Regions from separate parts of the Homo sapiens genome. Here regions 2, 3 and 4 are each linked to region 1. The links are contacts of gene promoters, found by promoter capture Hi-C in human tissues and cell types (Jung and others, 2019). All regions are on one chromosome and are shown on one strand. The core of a region is centred on a gene start or on the middle of the fragment in contact, and the rest is flanking DNA. Distances in the headings are between cores, read along the strand shown.

Region 1 (6,333 bases), core at 2,983-5,482:
TGGTATTTCTGGTGGTTCAATTTCAGATGTGTGTAATCTGGCTGCCAACGTAGGATTAGGCTTTTTGGCTTGTGGAGTTGACACTCCTCACTGAGCTTTAGCGAAATGATGAAAGAATTTTGAATTCTGTTCACACAGGTAAATAAACTGAAGGAAAAGCCTTTCACAAAAGGGAGCCAAACACATCTTCTAAGACATAGGAGCTGCACAGAAAGTCCTAGGCAAGAAACTTGATTTTTTTCCTCTTCTCGGCAGTATGCAATATTCACAGTGACTTCCATTTATTCCCAACAAGAGCGCTGGAAATCAAGTTTTTCTATTTGTTGAGCCTCTCTTCTGTGGCAAGCTTGTGCTATGTGTTTTTCCTAAAGGTTCTAGTCACATTGTTAGAAGCAGCTTCCAAGGTAATCATTTCTCATGAGGAAACAGGCTCAGGTTAACTTGCCATCGTTGCACAGCACACAAGTTGCATGGCTGGGATTCGGTTCCACCGCCTGCCTTGCATACTGGGTGTTATTAGCCCTTCTTCACAGGTGAGGAAACCAGAGCTCACAGAGCGTGGATGTGTTGAGACCGGTGCTTGACCCAATTCATCGGACTAGCACTGGAGGTGTCCTCCTCTTCCTGCCCTGCCATGATACCGCACTGCCTCCTGAGTCTGTTCCCCTGTGCTCTTGAAGCTACGGTAGACAGCATTTATTCCCTTCCTGTTCTTCATGTTCCTTGTCTGAGACAGCACCACACTAAGTCCCTCTGAATCTGACTGCAAAACCTGAAGTGGGTCTAAAATGGACCATGCTCCAGTGCTCAGCTTTTTCAAGACGTCTGTATTTCTGGTTATAGCTAATGTTATAGCTCCATCCAAACCTGGTGGGTGCTGTAGTTTACTGAGTACTATGAGTGCTTTATTTCATAGGCTTTACTACCTTCTCTCTAACTCAGGGGTTACAGGTCAGTAAGAGTCCCCTCAAAAGACAAGGGCTGGCCGGGCGTGGTGGCTCACGCCTGTAATCCCAGCACTTTGGGAGGCCGAAGTGGGTGGGTCACGAGGTCAGGAGTTCGAGACCAGCCTGGCCAATATGGTGAAACCCCCGTCTCTACTAAGAATAAACAATTAGCTGGGCGTGGTGGCGTGTGCCTGTAATCCCAGCTACTCGGGAGGCTGAGGCAGGAGAATCGCTTGGGCCCGGGAGGCGGAGGTTGCAGTGGACCAAGATCGCACCACTGCACTCCAGCCTGGGCAACAGAGCAAGACTCCATCTCAAAAAAAAAAACCAAAAAAAAAAACAACAAAAAAAACCAGACAAGGGCCCAGGGATACCGTTAAGTCATTTCTAAGATGGGTACTTTATCCTCTGGTAGAGGGCTCCTTAGAGCGAGGTTGTGATGAGGAGGCAGTCAAGCCCCCGAGTTGATCAATCCCTTCAGGCGAGTTGTTCTTTGATCATGGCCATCCAGTCCAAGCACACTGAAACGGCACACATTTGTGTGCTACTCAAACGGAGAGGGTCTCTGGTTTTCATCAAATTCTCAAAGGGGGTCATGGCCCTCCAAATCTTTAGGAACCATGGATTCTAGTCCAAGTTCTTCGTCAAATAGGTAGAATCTGAGATGCAGCATAAGGCTTGCAAGGACTTGCCCATCATCAACACAGCAAGTAGCTGCAGAGCCAAACTTGAACTCAGGTCTCTTAATTCCCAGAATAGCACACAGTGGAAACACCTCATCAAACATTTTGAGTGCCTGCTATATTCCAGACCCTAGGCTGGTGCTGCTGAGGTAACGATAGTCATCATGCAAAATCGGGAGTCAGCTGTGACAGTACTTTACAACAACTTTCATGTTGCTTTTACGTTATGGCCCAGGCAATATTCGCAGGGTACTCCACCATAAAAAGATGAGGCTGCTTGCATCCAGAGGAGCCTGGCCTGCCTGGCCACTCTGAAGGCCCCAAAGACTCACCATTGGGCACCCCTATAAACCATTCTCAACAGACAGGGACGCTTTAAGCGATGGCCTTCCCATGGTAGGGAAAGTTCTCCCCTACCATCTTCGTGCCTTTCGTCTCCTGCCACAACAAAAAGGCTTACACGTTTCAACACCGTCTCTCATCTCCCAGGTACCTGGCAGCCAGAATTCCTACTCTTCCTCAAAAATTCAGTGCTTGACTCTATGTTCCCACGATCTAAGCTCCAAATTCCTCCTCCACTCCACCTCACTACCCACTAATGCTTATCCTTAACAGCACCTAAAGCTTCTCCAACTTTAAATCCTCCTTTTCGTTTCTGACACTCTTATTCTGTTCTCAGATTCTTCTTTTTAAATTTCTTTTCTTTTTCTTATTTAATTTTAGAGACAGAGTCTTGCTCTGTCACCCAGGCTGCAGTGCAGCGGCAGGATAGAGCTCACTGCAGTCCCAAACTCCTGGACTCAAGCAATTCTCCAGCCTCAGCCTCAGCCTCCCAAGTAGCGACAACTAAAAGCCTGCACCACCAGGTATAGCTAATTCAGATCCTTCCTTCCAACCTTTTGTCTCTTACTCCTGGCTGTCCTCCAAGGCCACCACTTTCCCTGCAATCCTGAACTATTGATGCATTCTTTTGATTCTCCCTTGAGTAAAAGTCTTTTTTGAAAGGTCTCATGCTGGGCCGGGCATGGTGGCTCATGCTTGTAATTTCAGTACTTTGCGAGGTTGGGGTGGGAGGACTGCTTGAGACTAGGAGTTCAAGACCAACCTGGCCAACAGAGACTCCATCTCTGAAAAAAAAAAAAAACAAAAAACAAGAAAGGTCTCATGCTATTCAGCTATGTTACTGTTTAGCCCTCCATTTTGCAATTGTCTTAACTAATCGTATAGTCCTCCCCACATTCACCAAAGATTTTAGCTCCTGATGCTCCTTTCCTTTCCTACCTCTAAATCCCAACATCTAATTTTCCTGCCTTCTCACTTCCACTTCAGCCACTCTATTCCGTGGCTCTGTCCTGGACTTTTTTTTTTTTTTTTTGAGACAGAGTCTCACTCTGTTGCCCAGGCTGGAGTGCAGTGGCACAATCTTGGCTCACTGCAACCTCTGCCTCCCGGGTTCAAGCGATTCTACTGCCCCAGCCTCCCGAGTAGCTGGGATTACAGGCATGCACCACCACGCCCGGCTAATTTCTGTATTTTTAGTAGAGACGGGGTTTCACCATGTTGGCCAGGCTGGTCTTGAGCTCTAGACTTCAGGTGATTCACCCTCCTCGGCCTCCCAAAGTGCTGGGATTACAGGCGTGAGCCACCACGCCCGGCCTGTCCTGGACTTTTCTCATCTCCTAGTGCTACTTCACTATGAACCTGTTTGCCACTTTAACCACCAAGCTCTCACAACATTGCCTGCACTGCACTGGCCTTCAATTATCAGAGACCTGCAGTTTCGTGGCTCCTCCATCAGTCCCTAGCCAGTCTGTATCCCACGTTTGATGGCCTGGGCTGTCGTCTCATAGCACCCTCAATTTATTTTGGGCAATGCAATCCCAAGCCCTGGATAAATGCTATAATTCAAAATATCTGCTACTGCAGCCTGGTGGCTGAGTTCTAGAAAAAAGTGATCCATCAACACATACATGAGGCACATGAAACCAGGCCTTCCAACTTCAGCGTCCTCTTCCAAAGTTTCTTTGCTCTTCTTGGTCTCCTTCCTTGTCTCATAACTTCACCCATAAAATCGATGTCATCAAACGATCTCCCTGATTTTCTTCCCCCCTATATATCTGCACGCATGTTCTTGTTTCCTACCGTTTTAGTGGAATAACAGGTGACCTGCCTCTAGTCTAAATTTAATCCGTTTTCCTGAGTTCTGCATCGCATGCAGAGCATCCTACCTCCCCAGGGACCTCTCCACTGACTCCTTTCTCCCAGCCTCTCCTTTCTTTACAAACCTAAGGACCAACAAACCCCCTCTCTCGACCCTCTCATTGCCAAGCTTCTCCAGAGTAGTCTGCATTCGTTGTGTCATCCTTTTCGGTGCCCTGCCAAGGACGTGGAATATGACAGGGCTCAGTCAGTGCTTAATAAATCTCGAGCCTCAAAAATACCCGGTAAAAAGAAACCCGGCTCTCCGCTTCCCCCAGAGTCCAGCAACCCCCTCCGCTTTCATTCACCCACTTTCCTACCCTCGGCTCCGCCTTTTGCCGCGCCTCCCGCGATTCTCGCGAGACTTGGTGATTCCGTTCCGCACCGCCCCGGTTGAGCCGCGCACTTCTCGCGAGGTTGCAGGCAGTGCCGGGCCAGACATGGCGGAAGGTAGGGTTTTTTTGTGGAGCCGCGCGGGAAGACACGGAGCTGTGGGGGCGCTGCTGGCCGTGCGAAGCTGCCGTGGGAGGGGAAGGCCGGGCGTGGTTGCATGGGGGCTCCGCGGGTCTCGCGAGCCTTCCTGTCTAGCCTCTCCGGAGCTTCTCGGGCCGGGGTCCGGAGCGCGGTTCCTATGACAACGTCCCTCCCGCGATGCCGACCCCGCGGGACTGCGGCCGGCTGCGGAGCCGGGCTGGCAGGTCCCGCGCCGGTGCTGCGTGCAGCCGCGGGGCCCCGAGGGCAGCACGGGAGGCTCTTGATTGCCGGCGGTGCCGGGACGCCGGGGGAAGTAAGCCTTCTCCTTAGGAAATCGAAACTGCTGTCCTGGCACGTTCTGCATCCGGAAGGGGTCCATCCCTCGCTTGCGGAAGAGCGTGGGTCTCCTCGGGCTGGGTTGGGGTGAGGTGGGGTGGGGTGGGGGCGAGGCAGCAGCGAGCTGGCCCACGCTTCAGGCGGGCGCACTGGCGGCTCCGGCTCTGCTGCAACCCCAGCCTTCAGGCCAGGCGTACAGATGAAGACGGGAGGAAGGGGTTTGCGGGAAGGGAGTTGGCCAAGGTCACACTGCTCACAAGAGGGCTGCTCAAACCAGACCTCTGTGCCTTTGCCTCCCCGTCCAGTGCCTACCCTCTGGTCTCGTGCACTTTTCATGACATTGCAGCTTAAGGCACTCTGGTCTCTCAGAGTCTGCCTGTCTTAATGTAGCAGTAATTAGAAGCCTTCATTGTCAAAGCCTTATTGTACACGTAGGGGGAAAGAAGGCCCAGAGACGGGGAGTTACCTGTCAGGAATCGTGCAGGGACATTGTTGGATCTGGGCAGCCTGGTTCTCCTCTTCACCCCATTATTGGAGAACAGTATTCCTTATTTGACCTTTGTTTATTGAGTGACTGCAGTGTGCTTGGCCACGACCTTTCCTGTTGGTTTTGAGCTTTGACTGAACCCATCACTTGATGGATCTTAGATTTGGGCAGCACCTGACAGTTGGTCGGCTTTTCTCATTTGCATTAGACTTCAGATAACCTCGTGAAGGAGGCCTGGCGTGTGTATTTGCCTTTATTGATAAAGGAATTTAGGCAAAGTTACAGAGATAGCTGTGACTGACACCCAGTTGGTTTTGGGGGGTGTGTGTGTGTGTTTTGAGATAGGGTCTCGCTCTGTCCCACCGGCTGGAGTACAGTGGCGCGGTCACGGCTCACTGTAGCTTCAGTCTCCTGGGCTCAAGCGATCCTTCTGCCTCAGCCTCCTGAGTAGCTGGGACCAGGGGCGCTCGCCACCACACCCGGCTAATTAAAAAGGGGTGTGTGTGTGTGTAGACAAGGTCTTGGCCCCGTGTGGTGGCTCGCGCTAGTAATTTCAGCACTTTGGGAGGCCGAGGTGGGAGGATCGCTTGAGGCCAGGAGTTCAAGAGCAGCCTGGGCAACATGGCGAAACCTCGTATCTACAAAAAATACGAAAGTTAGCCAGGTGTGGTGGCACGTGTCTGTAATTCCAGGTACTCGGGAGGATGAGGCACAAGAATCGCTTGAACCCGGAAAACGGAGGTTACAGTGAGCTGAGATCGTGCTACTGCACTCCAGCCTGGAGTGAATGGAGTGATGGCGGGTGCCTGTGGTCCTCGCAGTAATACTAGGGAGGTGGGAGGATCATTTGAATCCGGGAGGCGGAGGTTGCAGTGAACTGCACCAGCCTGGGCGACAGAGTAAGATCCTGTCTTAAAAAAGAGAGAGACTAGGTCACACTATGTCACCCAGGCTGGTCTCCCAACTCTTGGGCTCAAGCAATCCATCCGCTTTGGCCTCTCTAAGTGCTGGGGTTGCAGGTATGAGCCATCGCGCCCGGCAGGCACCCAGTTTTTGTCTTTACTTTTTCTACCATATCCCTGGAGGGGGAAACTTTAGGTGAATATTGCCTGAAGGCAGAGGAGTAAGAAAAGGAGCAAAAACCCAAGGGATTCCCTGAAGTTGCTTTTTGAGTAAATCACGGAATGTTGTACACAGCAGACAGCTG
Region 2 (6,745 bases), core at 3,865-6,364, 58 kb before region 1:
GAGACGTGGTTTTGCCATGTTGGCCTGGCTGGTTTCAAACTCCTGACCTCAGGTGATCTGCCCACCTTGGCCTCCCAAGTGCTGGGATTACAGGTGTGAGCCACTGCACCTGGCTGCAAGGTATTTTCATGTAAGTGGACTCATACAATATTTATCCTTTTGTATCTGGCTTATTGCACTTGGCATAATATTTTCAAGTTCATTCATGTTGTAGAATGTATCATAATTTCATTCCTTTTTAAAGCTGAGTAACATCCTGTTGTATGTATATACTGCACATTTTGTTTATCCATTCATCTGTTGGTTGACAATTGGGTTGTTTCCACGTTTTGACTGTTGTGAATAATGCTGCTTTGAACATTGGTGTACAAACATCTGTTTGACCCCCTGCTTTAATTCTTTTGCATATATAACCAGAAGTGAAATTGCTGGATCATATGGTAATTCTAAGTTTAATATTTTGAGGACATGCCATGCCGCCTTTCACAATGGTTGCATCCTCTTACATTCCCATTAGCAATGCATGGGGTTCTAATTTCTCTACATTCTTGTCAACACTTGTCATTTTCTGTGTGTGTGTTTAATAGCAATTCTAATTGGTGTGAAGTGGTATCTCATTGTGGTTTTGAATTTCTTCTATTATTAGTGATATTGAGCATCTTTGCATTGTGCTTGTTGACCAGACATCTTTTTATCTTTGGAGAAATGCCTATTCAAGTCATTTGCCCATTTTTGCATTGGTTTTCTTGTTGTTATTGAGTTGTATGAGTTCTTTTTGTATTCTGGATATTAATCCTTTATCAGATAGGTGATTTACAATATTTTTCCCATTTTTTTGGGGGTTGCTTTTGATGAACTAAAGTTTTAAATTTTGATCCAGATCATTTATTTTTTCTTTTGTCTCTATTGCTCTTGGTGTCATGTCCAAGAGTTTGTTGCTAAATCCAATGTCTTGAAGATTTTCTCTTATTTTTTCGCCTGAGAGTTTTAAAGTTTTAGCTCTTACGTTTAAGTTTTCAGTTCATTTAGAGTTATTTTTTGCATATCATGTAAGGAAAGAATCCACCTTCATTCTTTTGCTTATGGATACCCAGTTTCCCTAGTGTTGTTTATTGAAAGATTTTCTTTCCTCATTGAGCGGTCTAGTCAACCTTGTTGAAAATCAGTTGGCCATATATGCAAGGGTTTTATTTCTAGGCTCTTATTTTGTTTCATTGGTGTATATTATGTCTGTCTTTTTGCCAATACCACAGTGTTTTGATTATTGTCGTTTTGTAGTAAGCCTTGGAATCAGGACATGTGAGTTCTCCAACTTTGTTCTTGTTTTCAAGAATGTTTCGGCAATTTGGGGTGTGAATTTTAGGATGGGTTTTCCAAAAGTTGTTGGGATTTTGATACAGGGATTACATTGTATTTGTAAATTGCTTTGGGTGGATTTTTTTGTGTTTGAGGAAAAGATTCAGTTGTTTAGAAGTCTCTTAAGCTCTCTTTATTTTACTTTTGTCTTTCCAGCATATGTCTCTTTCATATATTCACTTATACAGAATAGTGTACATATGTGTGATACATGCAATGTAAATATGTACAATTTTAAGAGTTATTTAAAAACAAAAACCATGTAACTGCTAGCAGGTGAAGAAATAGTTGGTTGAAGTTTTAAAACTACTGAAATAGAGTTATGACTGATGGACTACATTGACACGTCATCACCCACAATCCCATCATTTATATCAGGGTTCACTTTTGGTATTGTACATTCTATGGGTTTAGAGAAATATTTGACGTGTATCTTACCATTATAGTATCATACAGAATACTTTGATGGCCCTAAGAATCCTCTTCAGATTGAATTTTTGAAGATTTTAAACTACTTTTTTTTTTTGTTTTTTGTTTTTTTTGTTTGTTTGGTTGGTTTTTTTGAGACGGAGTCTCGCTCTGTCCCCCAGGCTGGAGTGCAGTGGCGCGATCTTGGCTCACTGCAAGCTTTGCCTCCTGGGTTCACGCCGTTCTCCTGCCTCAGCCTCCCGAGTAGCTGGGACTACAGAAGCCTGCCACCACGCCCGGCTAATTTTTTGTATTTTCAGTAGAGACGTGGTTTCACTGTGTTAGCCAGGATGGTCTCGATCTCCTGACCTCGTGATCCGCCCATCTTGGCCTCCCAAAATGCTGGGATTACGGGCGTGAGCCACCGCGCCCGGCCTTAAACTAGTTGTTAAATAGAGTATCCTATTCAACATTGTGGATTTTTCTAATTATTTTCTCAAGAAATCATTTAACTGGCTGGACATGGTGGCTCATGCCTGTGATCCCAGCATTTTGGGAGGCTGAGTTGGGAGGATCACTTGAATCCAGCAGTTTGAGACCAGCCTGGACAATATAGTGAGACCCCTATCTCACTTTATAAATAAAGCAATTGTTTCACTTATTTCCACATCCCCTAGATTTCCTGCAAACTGTAGCAGTACTATCTAATAGAAACATGGGAACCACACATGAAAGCCTAATGTGTGATTTTAAAATTGTAACCACATTTAGAAATGTAAAAAGATAGGTAAAATTCATTTTAATAATTCATTTAACTCAATATACCCAAAATATAATTTCAAGATGGAATCAGCATAACTTTTTTCTCACAAAGTCTTCAAAAATCCAGTTTATATTTTACATTTGCAGCACATGTTAAGTAAGACTAGCCACTTCTTAGGTGCTCAGTAGCCACATGCGACTAGTGGCTATTATATTAGAAAGTGCAGGTCTAACCTAAGAAGCTTGATTTGATTCAGTGTAAACATTTTGGGGGAGGGGCAAGAGTATGTCATAGATGAAGCTTGTGTATACCATTTTGCATCAAATAAGAAGATACACATTCTTGGGTTAATGGTTCTAAATTCGAACAATTATTTGGTGATTGCCAGATTTCTCCGTTGCGAAGATGCATTATCTCTTTTTACTGGTGAGTAATCTGTGGGGTGATGCTTGGGCATCATATTCTGTTCTCCAGTGACCTTTTCACTTAATGGTTTTAGCATCCATTGATCATCCTTGCCTGGATTATTACATTAAGGGTTGCAAATGAAATGCTCTAAATATATCTATGTAACAAATTTCCACCCCTTTCTTCCATTATATAAAGCATTAAAAATACTAGTTACTGGCCAGGTGCAGTGGCTCACACCTGTAATCCCAGGACTTTGGGAGGCCGAGGTGGGCAGATTGCTTGAGCCCACTTCGAGACCATGATGCCCATGGTGAAACCCTGCCTCTACAAAAAATATAAAAATGAATTGGGCATGGTGCCATGTACCTATAGACCCAGCTACTCAGGAGGCTCGGGAGGATTGCCTGAGTCCAGGAGGTCAAGGCTTTAGTGAACTGTGATTGTGCCACTGCACTCCAGCCTGGGCGACAAAGCTGTTCTCTCAGCCCAGTCTCCTTAGTAAGATCTAATAATTTTTCCTTTGGGAGATGACTTTCTCTAAACTTTGGAGGTCAGCAATAAATTGAAAGGGACTAGTTTCTTATCTGATTAATTCATTTTCATTTTGATGAATTCGTATGCCTTCTTAGGTTCTTCCTTAAAATCCTTAATTAAAGGAGTTTTGTCTTCATCATCATCCTGCATCAGAAACGGCATCAGTAATTGATATTTAATCTCATAGGTTGTGATGAGTCCTTACTTTTGTTTTACAGGTTGCTCTTAAGTATTGTTGGGTTTTCAGAGTATATCAGCAAAGGCTTTAGCTTAACATCGCTCAATTTTTTAAATATAAAAGCAATGTTAGCCTGACACGTTTTCTTTTTAAATTTCTTACCAAAGCACAAGATGGCATTCTTTAAGAAAGGTCTATTTTTGTCAGTTATAAATTTGCTTTCCAATATTTCTCCTTTATTAATAGTTTTCTGCAATTCATTGGGGGAAAGTTTGTTGCAGTCTCGCTATCAGCAGAAGCTAATTTATTTATCAGTGATATTTAATGTTATGCATTTATGTACTGTTCTTAAACCTCTCAAACAATTCAGGGCTTGCTTTGCAACTGAGCTGCTCACCAAATTCTCCTGTTTCTCTCCTTTCACCTCCATCACTTCGGAGATATGAAATGCACATTGCTGTTGCCACAGTGCTCGGTGGTTCCATGCTGCTGGTGGTTATACATTTTTGTATGAAGTATTACCGTAACTGTTAGACATCAACATTGCCTTCCATTTGTATTTCTGTTGCATAGAAACAGTCTTATGTGTGATACAGGGGATATACTTAAAGTCAGGGGCTCAGCTTTTGGTTCCCTTGCCTTTAAATAAATGCATTACTTCCAATTTTTTCTTTCAGTGTTTGTACTTTCCTAGGCCTCTTACATAGGTTCACCTGTATTTTCCCAGGACACCCCATTTTCTTAGAAGCCATTTTTACTTAATGTGGAGAAGATCATGTACAAGATGCCTTTCAGTAGAAGTTATATTTCATGCACAACATTTCTGATCATGCAGCAGGGCTCTCTTCTTTTGCTAATGTGATTATAAGGAGAAGAAGCACATACAAATAAATAGTTATTTGAATTAGAGAAATATAATCTCCTAATGCCATCTTAGGGAAGAGTTTGAGGAGGAGTTCAAGGCATGATAGGAAGATACAACAGAGGGTGAGTTAGTGTCAGCAGATCACAGCTACTTTGACATAATCACACCTGTTGTTCCCCTTTGGAAGAAATCTTGGATTGGACCTGGCATGGTCTGCTGCTTACATTATTCTTTCTTTCTTATGTCAAGAAGTGGGTGGAGACTACTTAGAGGAATGAGGAATCAACACCATCTTAATATGTGTTTGTGAGTAGAACATCTTGTATTTGTATTACCTGTTCCAGTTTTTAACTTTGTGCATTTTATGTGAATCCACTTCTTATACTTCCATTAAAAGTAGTTTAATACTTGGTCATATGTTAGAAACCTGTCATTCAGATTGTTGCATTTCAAAATGTAGACAAAGCTGTCATTCTGACTTGTTTGGCTTTTGAGTTTCATACCACACTTAGTCCAATCAAAATATAAAAAAGAAAAATTATGTTGCTAATTTTCAAATTTCAAACTTTTGCTTTAATTATAATAAACTTTATAGACACACATTTGAATCGCACACTAATAGCCTAGGAAAATTAGGGGTTTAAATGTAAATATTGCCTTCATCCCTTAGACTCTAAGTAATAGCAACAAACATTGGGCAAATTGGCTGGGTTCACCTGTAATCCCGGCACTTGGGTGGGCAGGGTTGGGGGGCGAGCTCAGGAGTTCAAGACCAGTCTGGGCAACGTAGGAAGACCTTGTCTCTACCAAAAATACAAAAAAAAGACAGACATGGTGGTTTGTGCCTGTGGTCCCAGCTACTCAGGAGGCTGAGGTGGGAGGATTGCTTGAGCCCAGGAGGCGGAGGTTGCAGTGAGCCATGAACACACTACTGCGCTCCAGCCTGGGCCACAGAGTGAAACTCTGTCTCCAAAAAAAGAAAGAAGGCCACAATGCTTAAAAAGCCCATCCAAATAATCAGAAAAAAGAGAATCACTCAATGTAAAAAAAACGGGGTGGGGGAATAAAAATATGTAAATGCACCAAAGATAAATTGCCAGTGGCAGAAGGATGCCCAGTGTTAGCCAGCAGTAAAAGTACCCAGTGTTAGCAAGGCTGTAGGGAAATAGTTGCCTACAGTGTTTCTGGGATAATACATTGAAGTAAACATTTTGTGGCTTGATATATATGTTCCTTTGACTTACAGTTCAGTTTATAGTTTATATTCTAGATATACTTCCACAGATGTACAAGGAGAGTGCAAAGTATTCTTTTTAAATTAATTTTTTTTTAAGATGGGGTCTTCCTCTATTGTTCAGGCTGGAGTGCCATGGTGCGATCATAGCTCACTGCAGCCTCAGACTCTCCTGGGCTCAAGAGATTTTCCCTCTTCATCCCCCAGAACAGTTGGGGCTACAGGTTCACACCGCCTGGCAATGGCAGCATTGTTTTTTCTTTTTATTTATTTTTAAAAAGACTTTTAAATATTCATAATTTCTTTTTTTTACTTTTTGTTTTTTTCACTCCTCTCAGCTCATACCTAGGCAGCATTATTTATATTTGAGGGGGAAAACGAAAAGAGGTATGGTGGTGGGAACGAGTTATCTAGTGTTCAGACTATGCTAAGTGGCCATCAGTTATACAAGGATGATTCCATTTCTGTATAGTATATGGTGGTGTAGCCTAAGTCTGAAAGAATACACAGCAAATTGTTAGCAGTGGTTGTCTTTGGAGAGCAAGAAGGTAGTGTCTAATGCCTTCTATTTTATTTTCCTATGTTACTTTAGGATACATGGCCTTTTTTCATAATTTAAAAAATCAAAGTACATAAAAGAAAGTTGAAAATATTCTACTACTTAGTAATAACAACCACCACCTACAGATGTCTCCCAACGTTGGGCATCCTTGCATCCACCTTTCAGTGCATGCATGCGGGCTGAAATCTGAGGTTGTAATAGATGTGCCATTTATATACTTTAAGTTGCAAGTTGCATATGAATGACAACCCAGCTAAGGTAATATTGAAGAAATTATTGACCTATAGATAGACATTTATCGCAAGAAGAGATTAATTTCTAAAAGAGTCCTAAAGTTGAGAGAAGAAAATCTATAAAAACCTCTAAATAGTTTTGAGACTCTTGATAGAACCCACTGACTTCCTGATGTCCAGGATGAGGGAATAAACACATAT
Region 3 (5,846 bases), core at 247-2,746, 34 kb after region 1:
TTGTACCTGATATGATCCACTGATGAAGGCACAATCACTTCTGTAGGATTCTTTTTTTGTTTTTGAGATAGGGTCTCACTGTGTCGCCCAGGCTGGAATGCAGTGACACTATCGCGGCTCACTGAAGCCTTGAACTCCTGGGCTCAAGAGATCCTCCCACCTCAGCCTCTCAAGTAGCTGGGAGTACAGGTGTTCACCACCATCCCTGGCTAATTGTTTAATAGAGATGGGCTCTTGCTGTGTTGCCAAGGCTGGTCTCAAACTCCTGGGCTCAGATGATCCTCCTGCCTTGGCTACCCAAAGTGTTGGAATTTCAGGCATGAGCCACTCTGCCTGGCTCTTGTATAGGATTTTTGCCATTAATGCATAACCTCAATCTACTCATGAGAAAACATCAGACCCAAATTGAGGGACATTTCTCAAAATAATCAGCCAGAGTGTTTCTCAAACATGTCAAGGTTATGAAAAACAAGAATGGTTTAGGAAGTATTACAGATTGGGTGAGACTAACACTGAATGCAGTGTAGAATCCTCAGTTGGATTCTGGCCATAAAAAGGGTATTACTGGTAAAATTGGCAAAATAGGGCCTATAATTAGTTAATGGTATTGGTATTGTATGTATTACGTAGTTACCTAATTTTGATCATTGTACTATGGTTATATAAGCTGTATTAATAATAGGGGAAGATGAGTAAAGGGCATATGGGGATGCTCTGCAGCTTTTCTCAAAGTATGAAAGTATCTGAAAATGTAAACAAAGTAGAAATTTGCTTTTTTATTTCTTACTAAGGTATCTTTAAATATATGAAGTGATATGTTAATTAGCTTATAACCATTTCATAGTGCATACATATATCAAAACATGTCATACATTAACTCTATATAATTTTTGTCTGTTAAACCCTAATAAAAAAGAATAAAAGATAAAAGTTTATAAAGATACTGATTGACCAAGTGGGAAGAGAAAGAATATGACTGTTAGCTCAGCAAAGCATAACAAATCTGAGTCCACAAGGAAAGTATTATATTTACTTCTTGGTGAAGTAAAGCAATTTGCTTCTAGCAAAATGATCTGTTTATGGCCTCTCTGTAGCACTTTACCAGTAGCAGCTGACACGATGAGAGGTTCCAATGGATTAGAATGGCTGTTTTGAAGCTAGAGTTTGTTGCATACTTTCTCAAGCAAAGATCTTACAGTTCCTTGGCATAAGGGCTCAGGGTATGAGTCATTCAGCTCTCCTGGAATGTGTCCTGGATAGTGTCAAGCCATTCCAAACAGCAGAAAACATCCTCCTTTATTCCTTTTCACTCTGGTTGGGAAAGCTATCCCCTGAAGCACCATCTGGAAAGCTTGCACTCTGCAGTGGAAAGGGCATAGTTTCCCAAACTGTGTACTCGGGGAGCTGTGTGCTATTTAAATTTTTAAGAGAAGCACAGCAATATTCAACATCTGTTGGCTACTGTGTGAACTACTAGGTTAAGGCTGTTCAGTTTCAGTATTAAATCATACTGTGTTCCTTCGATGACATCCACGGGAAGTTTAGAATATGCTCACAAAAAGGAGTAAAAAAGAATATGCTCACAAATTCTTTGCTATTTCTCCCTGCAAAGGTGGATTCAAATTCTCCTCTTCAGTATAGGCTGATTCACCTCTAATGAATGGAGTGTGGTAGAAGTGGCAGCATGTGACTTGAGAGATGGCTTCATCGAAGGCACTGTGGCTTCTTCCTAGCTCTCTCTTTTGGATTGCTCATTTTGGGGGAACGTTAGCGGCCATGTCATGAGGACACTCAAACAGCCTTGTGGCCTCCTGCCAGCAGCTGAGTCCCATGCCCAAAGATTCTCTCAGAGCTCAAAATAATCTATTTTATCTGCGGTTATATTCTTTACTTAATCCTCATACTGCTTTTGGGTTTTTCTCACCAATCTTTGGTTATGTTAAGTTTGTGTTTGTGTTGGCTTATTGCAGATTTGGTTTAGGTTCATTGTTCTTTTAATTTTTATTTATATTTAGCCAATTCAATAATTTCTTTTTATCTGTATTAAATCTTTCTTTGAAATTCCTTTGAATTATTTTTTCTTTTTGAGTTGAATTACTATCTTTTATCTCATTTTCTTTTTTTTTTTTGAGACAGAGCCTCACTCTGTCACCCAGGCTGGAGTGCAGTGGTGTGATCTCAGCTCACTGCAACCTCCACCTCCTGGGCTCAAGTGATTCTCCTGCTTCAGCCTCCTGAGTAGCTGGGATTACAGGTGCCCGCCACCACGCCTGGCTAATTTTTGTATTTTTAGTAGAGATGGGGTTTTGCCACGTTGGCCATGCCGGTCTTGAACTCCTGACCTCAGGTGATCCACCCACTGCGGCCCCCCAAAGTGCTGGGATCACAGGTGTGAGCCACCATGCCTGGCCTCATTTTCTAATAAGGTTAAGACTATGACTTTTTTTTATAGTATGAATCTGACTACATTGCAAATATTTTGGTAGGTACTGTTTTCATTGTGATCAATTTCTAAATAGTCTATTGTAATAATAGCAAGTTTTTACATAGCAGTTACTATGTGGTGGTGGTGTTTTGAGTGCTTTATTATGTATTAACTCCACACAGTTAGCAAGGATTGGAGCCGGGATTTGAACCCTAGGTAGTTTGGCTGCAGAATTCGTGCCATTAACCACAGTGCCGTGCTGCCTGTCAGTTTGGTTTCTTTTTCCTCCAAATTGAGGTGTAATGGAAGTACAGTAAACTGCCCACATTAAAAGTGTGCAATTGGATAAGTTTTGACATACGAATACACCTGTGAAGCCACTGCCACAATCAACATAAACATTTCTATCCTTGCTGGGTGTGGTGGCTCACGCCTGTAATTCCAGCACTTTGGGAGGCCAAGTTGGGTGGATCACTTGAGGTCAGGAGTTTGAGACCAGCCTAGCTAACATGGCGAAACCCCATCTCTACTAAAAATACAAAAAATTAGCCGAGCATGGTGGCACATGCCTATAATCTCAGCTACTTGGGAGGCTGAGGTAGGAGATTGCTTGAACCTGGGAGGCAGAGGTTGCAGTGAGCCGAGATCGCGTCATTGCACTCCCGTCTGGACGACAGAGTGAGACTCTGTCTCAAGAAAAAAAAAAAAAACTAACAAAAAACATTTCCATCCTTAAAGCTTTCCTCATGTCTCTTTGCAATCCATCCCTTTTGCCATCCACTTCTGCAGCTAAATGCTGATCTGCTTTCAGTCATTATAGATTAGTTTGCAGTTTCTAGGCTTTTATAGAAGTGCAATCATAGAGCATAGAGTCCCTTTTGTCTGGCTTCTTTCACTTCTTTTAGCATATAGATTTTGACATTCACCCCACACCTTAGTATGTTGCTTTGTGTTTTAATTATTCATTCCTTGTTATTGAATAGTATTCCATTGTATGAAAATACCACACTTTTTTTTTGCATTTACCTGTTGATGGACATTTGTGTTCTTTCTGGGTTTTATTAGCAAGAAAATTACCTGTATTCAGTTGTGTAAGGCCTTTGTGTAGACATGTTTTTATATCTCTTGAGTAAATATCTAGGAGGGACTGTTTAATGTTAAGAAACTACCAAACTGTCTTGCAAAATGGATGTACCATTTTACATTCCCATTAGCCGTGGATATGAGAGCTCCAGGTGCTTCACATCCTGACTAACGCTTGATATAGGCAGGTTGTTTTGGTTTTTGTTTACAATTTTAGCCATTCTAATGGATACAGAGTGCATGGCAGTTTTATTTTGCATTCCCCTGATAATAATGCTGAACCTTCTTTGTGTGTTATTGACAATTTTATATTTTCTTATAAAGTATTCACATCTTTGGCCTTTTCAAAATGTGGCATTGTATTGAGTTTTGAGTATTGAGTATTAACAGTTCTGTATATAATTTAGATACAAGTCATTTGTCTGAAAGCAAGCATCCTTTGTTCTTGATCTCAGGGAGAAACAATGAGATCTTTTATCATTTTGTATAGATTAGTTGTAGGTTTTTCTTGGATACGCTTTATCAATTTGAGTATTCCTGGTTTTCTAGATAAGTTACCTGAATTGGTTTTTGAATTTTGCCAAACACTTTCTTTGACATCTATAGAAATGATTATATAATTTTTGATGAATTACAGATGTTAAACTAAGATTGCATTCCTGCTGTAAAAACCTGTTTGGTCATTATATATTACCCTTTTTTATGTATGTTGTTGGATCCTATTTGCCAATATTTTGTTAAAAATTTTACAACAGTAATCATGAGGGATATTGGTATGTAATTTTTTTTAATGTCTCTATCAGATTTTACTATTAGGGTTATATAGGCCTTATATGATCCTTCATTGTCTGTTTTCTGAAAATGTTTTCTAAGATTGATGTTATTGCTTATTTCTTGAATGTTTGATAGAATTCACCACTGAAGTAATCTAAGTCCAGAATTTGCTTTTTGGGAAGCTTTTTGAAAACAAATTTTTAAAATATGTATTTTGTATAGATATAGGTCTATTCAGATTTGTTTCTTCTGTGTCAGGTTTGGGAAGTTTTGTTTTTCAGAAATATGTCTATTTAAGTTGTTGAATTTGTTACTATGAATTTGTTTGTAGTTTTCTCCTTTTAATGTCTGTAGCAATAACTCCTTTTTCATTCTTGGGTATTGGTGATTTATGTTCTCACTCTTTTTTTCTTGATAAGTCTATAGAAGTTTGGCATTTTTATTATCTTCTCAAAGAATGAGCTTTGGCTTTGTTAATTTTCTCTGTTGGTTGTTTTCTATTTTATTGATTTCTTTTTTTTTTTTTTTGAGATGGAGTCTCGTTGTGTCGCCCAGGCTGGAGTGCAGTGGCGCTATCTCAGCTCACTGCAACCTCTGCCTCCCAGGTTCAAGCAACTCTGCAGCCTCAGCCTCCTGAGTAGCTGGGATTGCAGGCATGCGCCACCACGCCCAGCTATATTTTATTGATTTCTGTCCTTTTTTTCTTTCTTTGGATTACTTTGCTCTCCCGTTCTCCTTTTTTCTCCCTAGTTTCTCAAAGTTGTGGAACCTGAGATAATTTATTTTAGATCTTTTCTAATACAAGTATTTAAAGCTTTGAATTTCCTTCTAGCTGCGTCCTGTGAATTTTTTAGTAGCTGGGACTATAAGCGCATGCCACCACACTTGACTAATTAAAAAAAATGTTTTTTTGTAGAGACAGGGTCTCACTGTGTTGCCCTGGCTGGTCTCAAACTCTTAGCCTCAAATTATCTTCCCACCTCGGCCTCCCAAAGCTCTGGATTCACAGGCGATATCCACTATGCATAGCCTAGTTCTATCAATTCCTTAAAGGAGAGTGGTAACATCTATAATTTTAGAATTGTCTAGTTCTCCTTTTAATTTTTGTCAGTTTTTCTGCATATAATTTTTAGCCTCTATTATGTACATTTACATTTATAATTATGACTTCCTAAGGAATTGTTGCTTTTATCATTTTAAAATAATTTTTGCCAAGTTCAGTGGCTCACGCCTGTAATCCCACACTTGGAGTGGCTGAGGCAAGCGGATCCCTTGAGCCTAGGAGTTTGAGACCAGCCTGGGCAACATGGCAAAACCCCATCTCTTCCAAAAATGCAAAAAAATTAGCCAGGTGTGGTGGCACTCACCTGTGGTCCCAGTTACTTAGAAGGTTGAGGTGGGAGGATCACTTAGCCTGCAAGGCAGAGGTTGCAGTGAACTGAGATCACGCCACTGCAGTCCACCTTGGGTGACAGTGAGACCCTGTCTCAAAAAAAAATTATATAAATATATATATACACACACACCGAAGCCATAGGAGAGGAACAAAACGGGGAAACTCATC
Region 4 (6,252 bases), core at 1,045-3,544, 39 kb before region 1:
TCTATCTAAAAAAAAAAAAAAAAAAGTTCTTAAAAAACTTCTTAGCAGAAAGTAGTGAGGTTCTTGTAATTATTTCAGTGGAATGGAGAGAGTAGAGGCCATCTTGGAATTGTTTGAAGAGCACTATTGGAAGTGAATATATACACCTTACGTTTAAATAACTGCCTGTGAAGGGAAGTAGAGGCTTGTGCTGGGGGGAGGGGTGTTATAGGATTGAAAATAAATTAGTATAGGCTCAGATGGTACCCAGACCTAAGTGATTAATTCACCACTTTATAATTAGATAATAGAAATACTGTACCAAAATTCTGTAAAAGCTGCTGTGATTATCTCTCTGTGCCATCATTAGCCCTCATGTAGTCACTAGAGGGCGCTCCACTCTCTTTTCAGTCTATGTGATTGATAACCGGTACCGTTCAAGGATTACTTTGAGACTCCTATAGTTGCCACAAGTCTTAATTCAGTCATACTCATATTTATATAGCATTACATTTTTATTTTTATTAATGAGTCTTTCCAGTGCAGTAGTCCCTAAGGCCTTTCTATGAAATGTACATTCTGAAACTGGTGTGGTATACCAACTGTTTTCAGACTGATTATCAAACAGTATGGATAACCACTCATATCCACAGAAATTAAAATTTCAGGTAGAAGTGGCAATAGGTTTGTAGTACGGAAGTTTAGGGTGGATACAGTGGCTCACGTCTATAATCCCTACACTTTGGGAGGCCAAGGGTGGATCGCTTGAGCTCAGACGTTGGAGACCAGCTTCGGCTACATGGCAAAACCCTGTCTCTACAAAAAAAAATACAAAAATAAGTCAAGCATGGTGATGCATGCCTGCAGTCAGGAGGCTGAGCCCAGGAGGTGGAGGCTGCAGTGAGCCAAGATTACGCTACTGCACTCTAGCTTGGGCAACAGAGCTAGACCCTGTCTTAAACAAACAAACAAAACCAGAAAGTCTAAGAAACCTGGATATCACTGTATCATTATAACATTTTATAAATTATTAATGAATGATGACTGTATAACTTTTATCTCTCTTTTCCTTTCATCACCAGTGGCTGGTCTGTTCAAGGAGTATGTCTTATTTATTTATTTTGTTTTTAAGCACTGGCAATGATATGAAAAATCTGGAGAATCTTAAGATTATGTGTTTTGTAGTATTGCCTTGGGTAGATATAGAAAATGAAGAATCAGTTAACCAAAACTCTGAATTACATTCTTTTACAGTTGCAAAATTCTATTCCAGTTATAAATTATTTTCCAGTCCTGTGTGAGACATAGAGGCAGAAGCCATCTCTTCTGTAATGAAGTTCTGGAGGGAATGAACCTAGTGCCTACATTGCTTGGAAATGGAATGATCAGTGGTAATGCCATGCGGTTTATCACGTAGTGTTCAAGAACATGGACTTTGGGGACTGCCTTTGGTTAGCTCTCTAACTCTACCACTCTTCTTAGTTGAGTGACTTTGAACAATTACTTAAATTTGGTCTTAGCAGTTTCATTTCTAGGGTAAAAACCCTATGCTTAGGAAATGTTTCAAATGTTCCATGTTCTATTGCTTATAATAGCAAAAAAAAAATTATTTTTTCCCCTTTTGCAGTTTTATTATTTATTTTTGTAAATGTCAATTATAATTCGAAGGACACTTTGTAGTTACTAATTAGACTATATGAAAAACTGTACAGACTGTTTGTACTATAATTTGTGTCCCTAAGAGATTAGGGGACTCAGTAACAGAAAAATCAACTCAGAAGGGTCACTGCTCAGCAGTCCACATAACCACATAGTAGAGCCCAAGCTACTGGTTGTGAGTAGAAAGAGACTTCATACAAATATCTTCACATGTCTTCTAGCATTATGCCCCTACCAGGAAAGGGAATGTCTGTCACAATTTTTTTTTTTTCTGCTGTAAGATAAAGAAAAGGCTGTATCCCTTAGACACATACTTAATGAAGACAATCTCAAAAGAAGCTCCTGTGTTTTTCTGTTTTCACTGTTCTTTTCTGAAGTTCACCTGGATGTTCCAGAGCAGTTTTCTAAACCTTTCATTGTTGGTTGGCCTTTTGTAGAATTCTTCAGCAACACACAATACAGAAGACACAGGCTAAAATAGTTCTCACAAATACACTTTGAAATAGGTGTATTTGGATATAAATACAACTTGCCATTCCATTATTTTTTTTCTCATGACTAAACTCTAAATTTTTAAAAATGGAGATTTTCAAACCAGTGATGTGCAAAAGCCCATTCTCATGACACAGTCATTTAAACTTATTAAGTATGGGAAAATTTTATTTCTTCCCTTTGTCTTGTGGAATAATTTAGGTTCTCACCCTGGGCATGATTCACAAAATAGAGTAAGACCACAGATAAAAGTCACATAGAATCACAGGCAATGAAGAAAACTTCTAAAAACAAATATCCCCCAGTGTCCAGTATCATCCATCCCAGCAGTGATGGAAATGATGGCCACCCCAAGATTCTGAATGGAGTGCGTGAAGCCATATGCAGTTCCCAGTTGATGTTCAGGAACTACAGATGCCACTGTTGGCCAAAATGCACAGGCAAGCGATGAATAGGAGATTCCCAGAAGACACAGCAACCCAAGGGCTCCACATCATAAAGGCCAGCATCATGTGGGACACAAGAGTGGCTGCAACCACACGCAGAACCCAGATGCTGTTCTTCCCCGTGTCATCCACTGGGAGCCCAAATACTGGGGTGTGGGAGCTGATAACGACATATACAACACTGTTCATTGCACTTGCTGCCTGGAAAGAAAATCCAAATTTGTCTGTAAAGAAAACTTTCCCAAGTCCAATAAAAGGGAACATGGCAACACAATAGCAGACACAGATGATAAATATGAGCCACAGGGGTAAGGAGAAATCCTTTACATCAGTTAATGTAAAAACTTCCCCCCCCTTTTTTTGTTGTTGTTGTTCTTTATGAAGGATTCTCTCTGCTCTCGCATCTAAGTAAGCAAGAGCCAAGGAAGGCACAGATTAGTGAAAGAATACATTTTATACCCCCAATCTTAAGTGTGACCCCAGGGGTTGTGTGACCAGCAGAACCCCACGAAGCTTCAATCTTAGAATACAGCCAACTCACGAAGTTCATGTTTACCGTACTTCCAATTCTAGCCATGCTAAATTGTTGGAGTCCAGACACCAGGTTTAATTCTTTGTCTTTAAACCAGCTGACAGCATATGTCCTGGGCAACTGCTGAGCACTCCCCACCAATCCAAACACAAGTCTTTCAAATTCCATCAGCCAAAAAACATTAAATATTCCACCCAGAACAAAACAACCTGTCCAGTGCAAATAAAACAGCTAAAAGTAATTGTGCCCCATCATATTCCAAATACTCGGTCTTTTAAAAAGCCACCAAAGAAACACAAAACTACATTGGGCCAAGAATACCAGGCATATAGCAGCATGAATTTCATGGTGTTCACCTGCCTGTTCCGTTTATCCTGAGTCTGAAGGGCAGCAGGATTATTATAGCAAAAATAGCTGCTGAAGCCAAGGAAACACATCAATAACAGCATCAAAAGTCATAGCCAGGTGACTGGAGGCCACAGAAGGGCCAGCAGCACCCATGCTTTCTCATCCTTCTCCTCCATTGCGCCCGTGGGAGGCTGAGAGGCAAAAGGGGTGACAACTCCAGGACCTGGCAGAAAAGCAGTGCCCACGGAGCACAGCCAAGTCAGTGATCACATGACTATGTGATTCTGACTATCATAGAATAATAGTGAACTGTGGCGGATAGAATGAATGGACAAGAGACAGCTACAACAGGACTATAGATTAATAGAACAATGTTGAGCAAATTGCAGACGGCAGCATACAGCACATTATTTACATAAAATAAATATGGCAGTATGGTAGGATTTGATCCTTGTAAGATTTTTATAATTTAACTCAAAAACAGTAATGGAGGCCTCATGGAAAAAAATTGAACTAGGCCTGGGTTTTTAAACACTTTCAAATGTGAAACTGCTGGTTACATATCTCTCTCTCTCTTTTTTTTTTGTTTGAAAACAGAGTCTGACTCTGTTGCTCACTGCAACCTCCGCCGCCTGGGTTCAAGTGATTCTCCTACCTCAGCTTCCTGAGTAGCTGGGATTATGGGCACCTGTCACCATGCCTGGCTAATTTTTGTAGTTTTTAGTAGAGATGGGATTTCACCATCTCGGCCATGCTGGTCTTGAACTCCTGACCTCATGATCTACCCGCCTCAGCCTCCCAAAGTGCTGGGATTACAGGTGTGAGCCACCGTGCCCGGCCTACATACCTCTTTTTAATATCATGATAGTACTTATACTATAGCATCTGTGATGAAGATAATATGTAATGAAAGATATTTTGAATTAATTGGTGCCTTTTTAAATTTTATTTTATTTATTTATTTATTATTATTATTTTTGGAGACAGAGTCTTGCTTTGTGGCCCAGGCTGGAGTGCAGTGGCACAATCTTGGCTCATTGCAACCTCTGCCTCCCAGGCTCAAGCCATTCTCCTGCTTCAGCCTCCTGAGTAGATGGGATTACAGGCACCTGCCACCACGCCTGGCTAATTTTTGCATTTTTAGTAGAGACGGCGTTTCACCATATTGGTCAGGTTGTTTTCGAACTCCTGACCTCAAGTGATCCGCCCGCCTCAGCCTCCCAAAGTGCTGGGATTACAGGCGTGAGCCACCTTGCCTGGCCACAGTCACATCTTTCTATATTTGAAAAATAGTGGATATGTGACATGTTAATGTGTAGTCTACAGTGTTATTCTACTCTATGGGTTTTGGGCTTTCTCTTTGCTAACTTGGCTGCTCGGTAGAAGTTTGCACGCACAAGTTGGGTACTAGTTAGTTAAGCATCAAAAAAAAAAAGCAGGTAGGCCAGGTGCGGTGGCTCAGAAGGTCAGGAGTTCAAGACCAGCCTGGCCAACATAGTGAAACCCCGTCTCTACTAAAGATACAAAAATTAGCGGGACGTGGTGGTGTGCGCTTGTAATCCTAGGTACTTGGGAGGCTGAGGCAGGAGAATCTCTTCAACCCGGGAGGCAGAGCTTGCAGTGAGCCGAGATCACGCCACTGCACTCCAGCCTGGGCGACAGAGCAAGACTCCATCTCCAAAAAAAAAAAAAAAACTAAAAAAAGGAAAAGAGGGGAGGGGCAGGTAGAATTTCCACAGGTAAAATAGAAGAAGAGGGGTCCACAGATAGGAGAAAAACTCAGAAATGCTATGGTTGCTTCAGAGTGGGCAAGGCCATTTTCAGATAGAGTGAAAATTGTGTGCTTTAAATTTTTAGGGCTACTCTTTTAGTTGAATTTGGTTGACATTTTAGAGATTGAAAACAATTTAGAGGGTCTAAGTCAGTTTTTCATGATGAGGATTCCAGTCAGCTATTATGAAGCTTTTTAGTGAATGTAACCAATCAAAAGTAAGTGACGTGGGAAAGCTGACTTAATGTTGTCAAGGAATCAAGTGGCAAGTGGCTGCCAGTAGAATCAAGTGCAGGGGCTTTGTGGCAGTGGCTTTGATGTCCTTTTACATTGACTCTTTTTTTGTTGTTGTTGAGACAGAGTCTCACTCTGGCACCCACGCTGGAGTGCAGTGGCACAATCTTGGCTCACTGCACCCTCCACCTCCCAGGTTCCAACAATTCTCCTACCTCAGCCTCCCAAGTAGCTGGGATTACAGGTGCACGCCACCATGTTTGGCTGTTTTCTGTAATTGTGGCTTTCAAACCCATAATTAGAAATACTTTACATCATGACGCAGTGCATACATATGTATATATAGATTAGTGAATAAAACACATACATAGATTATATAACTGAAACTACTTGTGATAAACTCTGTTTTCTATTTTTGTTAACAAAAAAACTTTGATAGTGACTCATTAAATTGCTTTTGCAGCCCTGTTTGAAAAACTAGTCCATGTAATCAGTATATCCTAAGACCCATTTTGGCACTAACTTACACAGAGCAACAGGATCAGTAGATAAAGACTTAACTCTTTTTGGTGTAATGCACTCTTCACAACAGCTATTCCAGTCTCTATTCCCTCAAGCCCTCATGCTTCTTCCTTTCAATAGATAACCTCATCAGTTGTGAAAAGTAAGGCGCTATGGTGGGCCTTACTTCATTTCTACATTTCTTCGAATATCTCTTTTAAAGCGCTTGTTTTGTACAGTTTCCCCATCTAGTTACTATCTTCAACTGTTAAATTTTTTGTATAAATTGT

What was found. Contacts are between HindIII fragments. The study calls those that stand out against the background at their distance.
Region 2: a fragment that was not itself captured here is called in contact with the fragment with the promoter of ANKFY1 in region 1 in 6 of the 25 tissues and cell types used here (aorta, bladder, heart left ventricle and 3 more).
Region 3: a contact is called between a fragment that was not itself captured here and the fragment with the promoter of ANKFY1 in region 1, in 7 of the 25 tissues and cell types used here (IMR-90 fibroblasts, bladder, dorsolateral prefrontal cortex and 4 more).
Region 4: a contact is called between a fragment that was not itself captured here and the fragment with the promoter of ANKFY1 in region 1, in 4 of the 25 tissues and cell types used here (H1 embryonic stem cells, IMR-90 fibroblasts, bladder and 1 more).

What each region holds. Positions count from the first base shown.
Region 1 is chr17:4,261,878-4,268,210 of GRCh38, reverse strand. It overlaps ANKFY1 (ankyrin repeat and FYVE domain containing 1), which reads left to right and starts at 4,232. Exons shown (of 25, transcript NM_001330063.2): 1 at 4,232-4,279. The coding sequence starts at 4,270. RefSeq lists an enhancer at 4,046-4,135 and a silencer at 4,786-4,935. The HindIII fragment of the contact is 4,200 bases long and covers 3,108-6,333 here.
Region 2 is chr17:4,320,251-4,326,995 of GRCh38, reverse strand. The region is part of intron 1 of UBE2G1 (ubiquitin conjugating enzyme E2 G1); the gene reads left to right. Among named protein-coding and RNA genes, the nearest start is that of UBE2G1, 43 kb to the left of the region's middle. The HindIII fragment of the contact is 4,632 bases long and covers 2,799-6,745 here.
Region 3 is chr17:4,225,707-4,231,552 of GRCh38, reverse strand. All of the region lies in intron 3 of ANKFY1 (ankyrin repeat and FYVE domain containing 1), which reads left to right. Among named protein-coding and RNA genes, the nearest start is that of ANKFY1, 35 kb to the left of the region's middle. The HindIII fragment of the contact is 6,569 bases long and covers 1-4,780 here.
Region 4 is chr17:4,298,727-4,304,978 of GRCh38, reverse strand. The region is part of intron 2 of UBE2G1 (ubiquitin conjugating enzyme E2 G1); the gene reads left to right. It also overlaps the pseudogene MFSD1P1. Among named protein-coding and RNA genes, the nearest start is that of ANKFY1, 38 kb to the right of the region's middle. The HindIII fragment of the contact is 3,920 bases long and covers 335-4,254 here.